Linked DNA regions of Homo sapiens: region 2 is linked to region 1. The links are contacts of gene promoters, found by promoter capture Hi-C in human tissues and cell types (Jung and others, 2019). All regions are on one chromosome and are shown on one strand. The core of a region is centred on a gene start or on the middle of the fragment in contact, and the rest is flanking DNA. Distances in the headings are between cores, read along the strand shown.

Region 1 (3,456 bases), core at 504-3,003:
ATCGGCTCGCCGCGTGGGGGACTCCACCCGCGTGAGCTCGGTTTCCGAAAAGCGAAGCTGGGGTGGGACACAAGGATTGAGGGGAGGACAGGGACGGACCTGCGGCAGAAGCAGGGTGCAGCTGGGCGAGGAACCCCACGTTGGTAGCTTCTCTTCTGGGATGGCCGCCCCGCGCCGCCCACTCCGGAATCCTGTCCCCTCCCCGGCGCGCCCCCGCCCAGCTAGCCTAGAGCCTCTGCCGGATCTTCTCGAATTTCAACACAAAGGGAATCCTCGGCCGCAGGAAGTGCATCACGAGAAAGGGGGCCTGGGGGCGGGGAGAGGGGGATGCCGCTTCTCTCTCTTCTCCCCCTCCCTCCCGGAGCCCAAGGCAGACGTGACGAAACCCGCGGGGTCCCCCCCGAAGCCCCAACAGCCGAGATAATTGAAACAAGAAACCCCCTTAGTAAGGGGGCGGGGGGTGGGCCCTCCCTCCCTCCTCCCGCCACGCCCGAGTTCCTGGAGATCAGAGCTGCCTCGCCGCGGCTCTGACACCTGTTTGCTTTTTCCCTCCTTTCCTTCCGGGTGCACTAGCACCTGGGCTTACGTTTGTTTTTCTACCCTGGGGCTCTCAACTTCCCTTCCACACTCCACCTCCCTTGCAGAGTTTTCTATAAAGTTCGGGCTCTGGGTGTCCCCTTGCACTCCCCACAGGGCTGTGCCGCAGGCTTGGGCGACTTTCCCCGCAGAACGTTGGCCGAGAGGGAGTCCCCGCGGGGGGGGCCAGGGGGGAGGACTGGGAGAGACCACTTTCGTTTTCTGAGACGCCTTCAGTTCCTGGCCGTCCGCCAGGCTTTCTTCTTGGAGGTGTCAGTCTTCGGGAGTGGGGGCTGGGGAAAGGGGGGCAGGCTAGGGGATTTGTGTTTGAAGCTATTTTTGGAAGGCAGCCTTACTGTTTTTACTTACGTGGTATTTTGCAAATTAATAAAAATAGCAAACTTTTCTAGAAATGCTTTATTCACATTTTACCGGAGAATGGGAAACCATCCATTGTCCGTTCAAAAGGCTATTTTTTTAAAGTTTGGGATGGCTTGGGGAGGCCAATGGCAATTTGGGGAGAAGGGCTGAAGCACCCCTTTTTGGAGCTCGGGGCCAGTTTCCCGGACTAAAAGACCCTGGTGACTGGGGATGGGCCTCACAACTAACTCGGGCTGCCCTGCCCCTGTCGCGTGGGCTCGCAATGGCAAGTGCTCCGGAAGGGGGCCGCCTCCCCGTGGGGCTCCTGGCTGCCTCTGCTCCCTTGGACACCACTGGGGGGCCTCCCCCTCCTAAGTTCTAGGTTGAGGCCGGATACCTGCCCCGACCTGTCTCCTCCCTTTCTCCAATACCACACCCACGGGACTCCAGTCTCCCCGGGAGTGGGACGGAGAGGGAACAAAGGGGTCTTTGTTCACTGGCTCCCGGGGCGTGGGAGTTGCGCTCGCTCTCCTTTCCCGGCGTCCCGTGGAGACCGGGAGGCTCAGCGCCTCTCCCAGCTCTCAGCGCCGCCCTCCCAGACCCCAGAGACGTCGGTCAGGGCGCGGCGCCCCGGGCCACTGCGGGCTCTTTCCGGGCGGGCGACGTGGGGGGCGAGGCACCGCGCGGCGGCGCCTGGCGGGCACTGTTGCCCGCGGAGGGACGGTGGGGGGGTTTCAGCAGCTGGCGGGGGTGGAGGGGGCGGGAGAGGGAGCCTGCGCCGGGCTGAGCCTGGAGGTGCGGGGCGGGCTCGGGGAGCGCTCTTGGGGCTCCTCCTGCCACAGCCGGGGCGGCTGGAACTCTCTCCCTTTCTCCCTCCATCCTTCCACTTCCCCTGCTCGGCCCCGCCGTCAGGCCGGGTCCCCCTTCCCTGCCGTCATCAGGTTCCCCTTCTCCCTTCTTGGCACTTTCCTTTCGAACCATCCTTCTGGACAAACTTTGATGGAGAATTTCACACCACGCTGGAAAAATGCCGGTTATGAAAGGATTACTGGCGCCGCAAAACACCTTCCTGGACACCATCGCCACCCGTTTTGACGGAACACGTAAGTCTTACACTTGAACGAGTGGTATGGCATTTTCTGAGACTGATTTTTCTCGTACACATTACTTTTGCTCCCACCTTCCCTTTTGCACCAGCGGAGTGAATTTTCTTCTGTTCTTGCCAAGGTATCTTTTGTGCGGAGAAATTTGTTCCCTCATGGTTTGGTGTAGTATTAACACTTTGTATTGGTGTAATAGTTGGCTCTCTTGAGTTCTTGGGTTTGTTAAGGACTGAAACGCAGCCTGAGGAAAGACCGACGCCCGTATTCACTGTGGGACCTGCATTTTGGTGTATCTTTAGGGAATTGGTTGTAATTTTCTGAGGTGAAAAGGGGAATATCGGTGTACCTAATCTTTCTAGAGTTTCAAGGCTCCCTAGATCAAAAGGAGAGCTTGGAGTGTTCTTTCTTGGAGCTTCATTCCGTGATATATTTCGGATAGGTATGATTTTCTATCTGAGTTTAAGAAATGCAGGATTGCCAAGTGTAAGCTTTCTGTAGAATTTTAAGTGTTGTGAGTTTGTCAGAACCTTGATTCCTGCTTTTGAGCTAGAATAGCGTATCTTTTAATCCTTAAATGAGCCTAACACTCAAGCAGAGGCTGTTCAGGAAGAAGGACATGAATAAAGACGATTTGATGATAAGAGAAAGTTTTTAGTTTTTTTTTTTTGAGTACGAATATTATTGGACATTTAGCTCATTTAAGCTACAGTAGGAAAAAAAATAGATAGGATGTTGTGTGGTTGCTAGCAGACGGTTCGTTATCATCTGCAAGTTGTTCTCTTTCAGGACCACGGTCAGGTCCCCACTCCTTCTCAGGCTTTTCAAGCTCTCTACTTGACCCTGTGGATCTTCCTAGCTGGCTTTAACCCTGTAATTAGGAGTCTGTACTACCACCCCTAACAAATGCTCTCAGTTGGTTTCACTACGAATATCCTCATCTTCTTTCTAGCTTATCTTGCTTCTGTGCACTGTCTTCCATTTTTCTGTTGAGACTCAGAGAAACTCATTTATCCTAAAGTCCTTCTTAGTGGTTCAAGTGTCATTGCTTTTACTCTGTATATTTCTTGGAGCTGATATGGGAGAGCAATACTAATTTCATTTCCACTCCAGTAGTCTAAATACACAGTCTTATCTTTGGGTGGGAAGCAAGTCTTGGACTTATGCTTCAGGGATAGTTGGAAAAGTTTACATGAGAAAGAAATGAATCACTTTAATTTTGTTCAGTTTTTATTTTTGACATCTAGTCTAATCATGGTAGTTGGTGTGGATATTTGGTCACTTCATAAGTGTTTTTATCTTTACATCTAGCCATTCTTTTCCCTTTTATATTCTAAATGTGTTAGATGTTATGTATGAGGTGTAATGTTATTACGTATGTCTTTTTTAGATAATAATGATAAATATTATAGGAAAACTT
Region 2 (3,381 bases), core at 177-2,676, 84 kb after region 1:
TTTTCCAAAACTGCTGGCTTAGGTATATAGTGTTGAAATGGTTCTTTCTAATTTAGCTCTAGTTTAAATAACCCTCTCTTAATGGGCCAGCCTACAAGATCATATCTGTTGCATGGCTTCCTTTCTACCCCATGGTATTCTTTTACAGAATGAAGTATCCAACAGTGCAATGCTGAATCATTATTAGCTCTAATTTGGGAAATCGAGCCTTGAAGTAATAAGTGTTTGGGGTCTGATTCTGTGAATGCTACTCACTCTCAGCTTTCCTTTCATCAAAGGAGCTTGTCTTCATTTGCAAACATTTCTTTTCTCTTCAAAACATCTTTCACAGTGCCTTTGCCAGGTAAATACATTCCTTCCTGAAATATTAAATCAATACATCAAATTAATTGCCGCGAGTTTTGAGACCTGACACCAAAAGAGAATACACAGCCTCTAGCTCAATTCAGAGGTCACTATGCTGAATTGCTTTCACAATCTTTGAATTATGCATTTGAAATGTTTGCTGCTGTATCTTGATTGGAATGTATTTTTTAGTGTGAAAATAATTGACAGGAATTAGTGTTTTTTTCCTTTTCAAAGAAAAATTCAGGATCACATGGAAGCCTCTTGCATGATTAGCAAACAAGACACACCTTCCAGATTTATTTACTTCAATCAATAGATTGCAAATGTCCTAATGTAACTTGAATACGTCATCTGTGCTTGGTTGCCAAGAAGATAATCTGACTCTTGGTTTTATTTCCTCAACCATATCCTTCACTGAGAATCTGGAGAAAATCCCTCAACATTTTCATCAAAGGGATGTTTGATGTAGAAAATCTTAGCTACAAGAAAACCAAGGATCCAATACAATAAAGGAGAGTTTCTATTTGCACGTGTTATGAAACTTCAGCCCACTGTTTTCTTACCTAGCTAATCTTATGCTTTAATGTCCAAGCTTGTATAGAATTCAAAAAGTGATCAGGAATTAGCCTATAGGATGCTTTTGTAAAAATTAGAAAAAGGTACTCCTGGTGGACAAATCAGTTAGGAAAAAGAATCTCCTTGAGTGGATCCTGGGGTGCAAGGTTAGTCACTGGCACACTGTTTCCCGTTTGGCTTAGATTCTTTGTGAAATGCACAAATGCCCAACCTGGGATAGCAGCTCTTGGGTAAAGGATGAGTGTATGAGAATTGTATGAAGCATCTGAGAGGTATGGTATGAAAGATGCCCTGTAGCACCTGGGAACACATCCAAATCTCAATTGGCATGGGTCACGTGTAGCTACAGGTCTCAGAAATAGTTCTTGGCCATTTCAGAGAATACTATTCATGCTGTTGCCAAATTCAAAGCATGAGGAACAGCTGATTTTTATATATTGCTGATGTTTGACACATAAAATGGCAATTTTCTATGATTCAACCTAAATAAGTCCCCTATTAGTAGTGCTTGGCCATTTTCTAATGTTTTGATTAAAATGCTACTTGTCTCTTATCCCTACACCTCAATGTCTTGATATTCCTCCCCCCCCCCACCCCACTACATAAATTGAGCTGTTATCTTAAATGGCAGCCATCTCTGTCTGGAGCTGTTAATTCTTGATACTGTTGAAAATAACTTTGATTTGATCTTATTGCTACTGTCAGCACACTGAGTGGGTGCCAGTTTCAGGACACAATAGTAGGTGAGGGACTTTTTAATCAGTGAAAAGTTTGTAGCAGAAGAGTCACTAGTATTATTTGTTAAATCTACCTAGAAACATGAAACAATTGGAATAATTACTGGACAAATATTTTACAAAAATGCATGTAGTGTTTTTATAGGTTATAATGCTTACAGTGAGCTTCAAGAAACTCTAGAACTTATGCTTCTGTGCTTTGCTGCTTTGTTTATTATAGGGAAAGAAAAGAAGATAGGAAGGAAGGAAAGAAGTTAAATATTCTTTCATGAATGGATAAACTGTTAGAGTTTATCCTACAGTTGAGTAGTTCAATTGGAGCAAATAGATGTACAGCAGATCCTTGAATAATATTGTTTCATTCAAGTCATTTATTATAACATTGATGAGAAAAAAACATCAGTTCCCAGCCTGGGCCACTGTCTGTGTGGAGTTGGCTTGTTCTCTTGTGTGGATTTTCTCTGGGTACTCTGGTTTCCTCTCACGTGTCAAAGATGTACACGCTAGGTAATTTTGTGTCTGGAATTGGTGGGTTCTTGGTCTCACTGACTTCAAGAATGAAGCCATGGACCCTCGCGGTGAGTGTTACAGTTCTTAAAGGCGGCGTGTCTGGAGTTTGTTCCTTCTGATGTTCGGATGTGTTCGGAGTTTCTGCTTTCTGGTGGGTTCGTGGTCTCACTGGCTCAGGAGTGAAGCTGCAGACCTTCGCGGTGAGTGTTAAAGCTCATAAAGGCAGTGTGGAGCCAAAGAGTGAGCAGCAGCAAGATTTATTGCAAAGAGCAAAAGAACAAAGCTTCCACAGTGTGGAAGGGGACCCCAGCAGGTTGCCACTGCTGGCACCGGCAGCCTGCTTTTATTCTCTTATCTGGCCCCACTCACATCCTGCTGATTGGTAGGGCCCAGTGGTCTGTTTTGACAGGGCGCTGTTTGGTGCGTTCACAATCCCTGCGCTAGACACAAAGGTTCTCCACGTCCCTACCAGACTCAGGAGCCCAGCTGGCTTCACTTAGTGGATCCCGCACCGGGGCTGCAGGTGGAGCTGCCTGCCAGTCCCGCGCTGTGGGCCGGCACTCCTCAGGCCTTGGGTGGTCCATGGGACTGGGCGCCGTTGAGCAGGGGGCGCCGCTCGTGGGGAGGCTCCGGCCGCACAGGAGCCCACGGAGTTGGGGGGAGGCTCAGGCATGGCAGGCTGCAGGTCCCGAGCCCTGCCCCGCGAGAAGCCAGCTAAGGCCCTGCGAGAAATTGAGCACAGCAGCTGCTGGCTCAGGTGCTAAGCCCCTCACTGCCCCAGGCGGGTGGGGCTGGCCGGCCAATCCGAGTGCGGGGTCCGCGAGCCCTCGCCCACGCGGAACTCCCGCTGGCCCGCAAGCACCGTCCGCAGGCCCGGTTCCCGCCCGCGCTTCTCCGAGCTCCACACCTTCCCGCAAGCTGAGGGAGCCGGCTCCCGGCCTTGGGCAGCCCAGAAAGGGGCTCCACAGTGCAGCGGCGGGCTGAAGGGCTCCTCAAGTGCCGCCAAAGTAGGAGCCCAGGCAGAGGAGGCGCGGAGAGCGAGAGAGGGCCGTGAGCACTGCCAGCACGCTGTCACCGCTGAATTTGACCTGCGTACATGATCCCAGTCTGAGTGAGTGTGGGTGGGTGTGAATGCACCCTGCAATAGAATGATGTCCTGTCCAGCGTGGGTTTCTGCCTTGCACCCTGAACTTCTGGGATAGGCTCTGGC

Evidence for each region. The method cuts DNA at HindIII sites, captures the fragments that hold promoters and counts their contacts. A contact is called where the count stands out against the background at its distance.
Region 2: a contact is called between a fragment that was not itself captured here and the fragment with the promoter of KCNH8 in region 1, in 2 of the 25 tissues and cell types used here (dorsolateral prefrontal cortex and hippocampus).

Annotation. Positions count from the first base shown.
Region 1 is chr3:19,146,757-19,150,212 of GRCh38, forward strand. KCNH8 (potassium voltage-gated channel subfamily H member 8) reads left to right here and starts at 1,754. Exons shown (of 16, transcript NM_144633.3): 1 at 1,754-2,039. The coding sequence starts at 1,964. RefSeq lists enhancers at 9-602, 603-1,196 and a silencer at 144-315. The HindIII fragment of the contact is 8,005 bases long and covers 1-3,456 here.
Region 2 is chr3:19,231,556-19,234,936 of GRCh38, forward strand. All of the region lies in intron 1 of KCNH8 (potassium voltage-gated channel subfamily H member 8), which reads left to right. Among named protein-coding and RNA genes, the nearest start is that of MIR4791, 82 kb to the right of the region's middle. RefSeq lists enhancers at 2,279-2,795, 2,796-3,311. The HindIII fragment of the contact is 4,114 bases long and covers 1-3,381 here.